2 separate regions of the Homo sapiens genome follow, and region 2 is linked to region 1. The links are contacts of gene promoters, found by promoter capture Hi-C in blood cells and fetal thymus (Javierre and others, 2016). All regions are on one chromosome and are shown on one strand. Each heading gives the region's core, a stretch centred on a gene start or on the middle of the fragment in contact. The rest is flanking DNA. Distances are from core to core; before and after follow the strand shown. Region 1 holds the start of TWF1 (twinfilin actin binding protein 1). Region 2 overlaps LRRK2 (leucine rich repeat kinase 2).

Evidence for each region. The method cuts DNA at HindIII sites, captures the fragments that hold promoters and counts their contacts. A CHiCAGO score of 5 or more calls a contact.
Region 2: a contact is called between a fragment that was not itself captured here and the fragment with the promoter of TWF1 in region 1, in 1 of 17 cell types (monocytes). The highest score is 8.7, in monocytes.

Annotation. Positions count from the first base shown.
Region 1 is chr12:43,805,007-43,807,706 of GRCh38, forward strand. TWF1 (twinfilin actin binding protein 1) reads right to left here and starts at 1,311. Exons shown (of 9, transcript NM_002822.5): 1 at 1,215-1,311. The coding sequence starts at 1,239. It also overlaps a transcript of TMEM117 not described here. RefSeq lists a silencer at 1,007-1,486. The HindIII fragment of the contact is 5,668 bases long and covers 156-2,700 here.
Region 2 is chr12:40,304,563-40,307,262 of GRCh38, forward strand. It overlaps LRRK2 (leucine rich repeat kinase 2), which reads left to right. Exons shown (of 51, transcript NM_198578.4): 28 at 1,223-1,404. Among named protein-coding and RNA genes, the nearest start is that of LRRK2, 81 kb to the left of the region's middle. The HindIII fragment of the contact is 3,436 bases long and covers 1-2,700 here.

The sequences.
Region 1 (2,700 bases), core at 61-2,560:
ATATATCAAATATCCTAACTTGTTTAAAGAAAAAGACAATAAAATGCATTCAGTCTTAACTCTGGTTATATTTTTCTAACTTGCATTTCTCAAAAGCTAGATTAAACTCATTGAATAAATATGTATTTAATAACTAACCCTTGTGTTCCTATTAAAGCTTCAATTTCGTTCTAATTTCGTTCCTGTGTTGTCTATTAGCAGCAAGAACCACTATGTAAGTAGGTAGTGCTTGCTATAAGGCTCAAGCATGAGAGTCAATAACTACATATTTATATATCGAAATTAATGCGGATAAATAAAACAAAGTTTTCAGATTTGAGACTATTTTGCTTCTGCGTGCGTGCAGGGGGATGTGTGCGGTGGTGTCAAAAATCTTTACGAATAAAACATACAATTAAGTGTTCATCTGGGAGAAAGACTCGCTATTAACAGTAAGAGCTTGAGTTTACACTAGAACTCGTTAAGTGATCGCGAGTAACCCGGGGATATATTATTTGACTCTTGATGAGGTGAGTACCTGCAGGCTGCCCAATTTCAAACCAGGAAATAATGGAGGTCAGATATAACTGCATATTGAACTGTCTGCACGCATTACATGCAACCATACAGATCAGTTTCCCTTGGGGAGTATCTAGGAAAAAGATCAAAACACACGCTTACACTCGAGATTTCTCAGAACATAACTCTCATTTTCCTATTTGGAGAGAAAATGCGGGAGAGTTTTGGGAAGCACCCCTACTGATGTGAGAAAGATTCTGGCATGGTTCTTTTTGTAATCAAAGTCCTGTAATATTCTCCTTTGGACCATGAAAAAGAAAACTCGCCTGGTTCTCGACAGCGTACTGAAGCCCCAGTCGCCTCCACTGTCCCAGCTCTTCCCTACGTGACCAAAAGGGGGAAAGTTGGGCGACTGTCGGGGACGGTGGAAGGCACGCCCCCTTCAACCAGGCCGCCTCGAAAGCCAATTTCCTTCGCTCCCCCGAATTTCGGATCAATCTGCAACGTGACGGCAGCAGGGACCGGGCTGGAGGAGGACGCAGGCCGGCAGCGCCCGGGAAGCAGGAGCGCGGAGAGGCGCCGAGGCCCGGCTCGCCCCGCGAGACCGACTTCCGGAGCTCCCGGCCCGACTCCAGCCCTGCCGGTCCTGCAGCCCTCCCGGCTCTCCCGGCTCTCCCGGAAGCCCCTTCCCTGCGAGTCGCGCCGGGCGCTGTTACCTTGGATGCCGGTCTGGTGGGACATGGCGGCGGCCGCTAGCTCCCGGCTCCGGCGCTGAGTGCAGCCAGCGGCCCCGGCCGGCGGCCCCAGGAAGTGGCTGCTCCTCCGCCGGCCCCGGCGCGTCATCCGCCCGCGACCCGCGGCCGCCCCGCCCCGTGAGGTTGACTGAGTGCCCGAGCGTCCCCGCCGCCCCGCCGCCCTTCCTGGCCGCCGGGCTGCGGTCCAGCCCCCGGCCTCGCTATCCTAGTTCTCTGCTTGGGGTCCTGCTTCTGCTCTTGCCGCCGCCTCTCCCGCTTCTTCCGGGGGGGACATGCCGCAGAATCTAGACTGCTCAGTGCTCCGACGTCTGCTCTCTGACAACCCCGCCGACGCCGCCATTCGCTGCCTCAGCAAAGGGGTGCTCAAAAACGGAAGTGATCATTTTACCAAATAGGCATTTTCCAGCTTAAAAAAGATGTGCACATTATTTTTCTTGGTTTACTCTTCCTATAATCGATACCGTTTAGTGTAGAAAAGCCTTCTCCTTGCTCCATTGTTTTGAAAGAATTAATATAGACTGCCTCTCATCAAATTTTTCCACGATTTTAAATTAAGTTAATCTCAGACTGTTAACTTTTCTTTTCAGCTGGACACATTTAGAGACTCAGTGTATCTTTCTCTTCACTCCGGAAAGAGACAGCCACTAAGAGATTAGCTGATTTGAGTATCCCTCTGTGGTCGATTATACCATTGCAAATCCTGCTCTGCTTTAGGTTGGCAGTTTATTATTTAATCCAGTAATTATTCAAAATTCACTTGGACAGATTTGTAAGGTAGCAGCAGATATTACTTAAAAATCTTTTCCTTTCCTGCTTTTACAAACATGTAGTTCCTTCCTGAAAGGTAATGTTAGTTTTGTGGGGGGTTTGGTTTTTTTTTGGTACTGCTTCTCTACTGCTACTAGGTGGGAAGCTAGTTCTTATTTTTAGGGCCTTGAAGTGACACATACACAAAATTATAATCTGCTAATGAAGAAATAATTTATTCAGGTCAATAATATAAGTGCAAGTTAATCACTGTTCCAGTACTATACGATGTATTTTTCATGAGTGATGAACAGGCCTGCAATTGTTTTTCTTTACAAGAATCACAGCAAACAAGGTTATGTTCTATTGCCTGTTATCTGAGCTCTGTTTTTCAGACATATTCTCATATTCAGGAATAAACTAAATCTGAGTTTTATGACTTGTATGGATTTAAGAAATGTAGGGAGGAGTTTCATTCTAATCAAATTCTTCCTGACACAATGGTTCACCCTGATTTACCAGTTTTTGACTACATTGCTGAGCAGAGAGAAAATTGCAGAGTTGACTTGCAGTATTTTGACTGATTCATGTCCTAGTGCTTCGGGGAAATTGCTTAAGGAAGTTGGCGTTGCTCAAAAGTATAGTTGAGCAAAATATAATCCTTCCATATTCGTGCTTGGGAAAGGCCACTGTATTCTCA
Region 2 (2,700 bases), core at 148-2,647, 3.5 Mb before region 1:
ATAGATTAACTCAAATTATTCTTAACTGTTACTTAACTATGACAAAACAACTTAGAACGCTTTGCTAATACACAAGATAGTATAAGGATAAAAATTCTTTATAGTACTAGCTCATAAAGAGTGTTCTATGGAATAGTAGTGGATGTCATTTAATAACTATAAATTCAAAATAAGCATTGTAAATATCAATACCATTCAATTTTTTTTTGTTTTTTAAACAAGTTGTAAGCCTACCCTATGGTAAATGGATATGGTAACACAGCATAATTTCCTCAAAAAATTACTTTTGTGATATACTTTTAAAGGATTATATGAATATATACATAATTATAGATGAATGTGATGCTGTGTGTCATTGTATCACCAAATCTCTGTCCAATCTGTTAACAGACTCTTAAATAAACCATTTTTCTCAAGTTGTTACTGGCCTGTATACTGTATTACTTGTTTTTCAGCTTTCCTTGGTACATTCTTAAATTTCTGCATTCCGCCACCATGCTATCACCCTAATGGATCAACCTTTTTTGTTTTGCTCCATTCTCTCTGTTGTAAATCTGAAATTGATAATTTGTTTGTCTCAGAAAATATTATTTTTCAAGTTCTAGCGTATTGCCTACAAAAACCAAAAGAATTAAGTGTCTGACACTGTGAGGTTCAGCAAAACTGTGCATATATTTTGCTACCTGATTTTTTGCCAGCAAATGAGTGTTTTCTATTATAAATATAGTATATATTGCTTAAAAATTTGGAACAGAAAAGAAATTACTCCAATTAGGATGCCACCTAAAGTATAAGCATGTAGCTGTACTTTGAGAACACTAAATTGCATGCAGGTTTGTAGTGACTAGGTCTTCTTGCCTTTACTGAAGGAGCAGAATGAAGTCACAGATAATGGATAACCAAATCCATTTTGTGGTAAGAACTTCCTTACTTTCAATGTCTTGAAGAGATGAAGTATGTTACCAAAGGAGATTGGGTTTTTTAATATTACAGATGAGTGACATAGATTGTTTGGGAGTAAGTTTTTATATGTAAGTTTTTATGTTTTTAAACACATACTGACAACTTATGACAAACCTTTGGAAAGTTTTAAAACTCTGTTGAAAGGTTGTGCAAGCTGCTGATGGAATCTGTGAGCCTTTCTTGTTTCTTATCACGTTTTTTGGCAGAGCACATTTCTTCCTTCCCACCAACAGGTTTTGCCCTTTTTTTTCCCATTAAGATTCCTCCTGAGATTGGCTGTCTTGAAAATCTGACATCTCTGGATGTCAGTTACAACTTGGAACTAAGATCCTTTCCCAATGAAATGGGGAAATTAAGCAAAATATGGGATCTTCCTTTGGATGAACTGCATCTTAACTTTGATTTTAAACATATAGGATGTAAAGCCAAAGACATCATAAGGTTAGATAATTTTTTTCTATTTGGTTTTACTAAATTTATTTCAGATTTTCTACTCTCTGTGACTTTGATGGACATATATTGTTACTATTTAGGGAAAAATAAATAGTAATATTTGGCATTAATATGCTGTGTGTCATTTGCCTTTCATTTAATGAATGTGTTTCTGTGGTGCCACTGTAGAGATTTCTCATTCTTCTTAGCCAGACTAATGTTGAGAGCGGCTTCTCCTCCTTCTGTTTCTTTTCAGTGGAGTAGACTCTAAAAGAAAATAAGTATTGCTATTTGGTCTCTGGTTACCAATTACACAATCTAAAGAAATACAGCACAGTATAATAACTTCTCACACTGTATTTCATATAGCAACTAGTTAACATATGCCTCTTACATCTTAAAGCATTATAGCTACTGACATCATGTGAAATTACTAACTTCTATTTTGCCCATTAGGATGAGTAATCTACTCACCTTGATCAGTTTTGAAAGCACCAAAACTTCTCAAGTATCACTGTTTCTGGTCTTTACACTTTAAGCACTTTAAATATCTTTGGTAATGGATTTTATCCTCCTTTTTGTTCCCTTTCAGCACATCGGTCTTATTACTTTCTCATAAAATCCTTTGCTCCCTTTTCCACAGTTACTGTATTAACGTTGCAGACCTCAGCTCTGTCATCACCTCTCAACTTGACTGTAATATCCACCAAGGCAGAGACCATGGCTGTGTTCACTCACTATTCAAATCTTGGCACCCAACACAGTGCCTGGCATACAATTAATAGTTGTTTAATTACCAGTGATTTATACTTACTCATTCTCTTCTGCCTAAAATCTCTTAAATTTATATTTAACTTCATCTGTTTTTATGAGGAAGGATTTTGTTTTCTGAACTCCTGAGCTTGATTTCATTTTAAAGGAGTTTGTTATCTTTTGTGCTAATTGTGGCTACCCTTCATCCTACCCAATTATTTTTCTCTCTTGAAACTGGAAAAGATGGTCATATAAAAATTGGTTCAGTTCTTACTAAACATTTAGTAGAACTAGCTTTCAGTGTATTATACTGTATTATCTAACTAAATATTTTTAATATTTAATATTTAATTTAATATATAACTAAATATTTTTAAACATGTTTAACATTTTCAGAAAAGACAGAAAGACCTAGAGCAGATTAGAAATTGTAGGCATCATTTGCTTTTTGAAGAAAGACATTTTTTCAAATAGTGGTGCATTCTTAAGAAATAAATCAAGAAAGGTAATGTTGCTTTTTGGTCATATCATCAGGAATGTTGGTCAGATTCT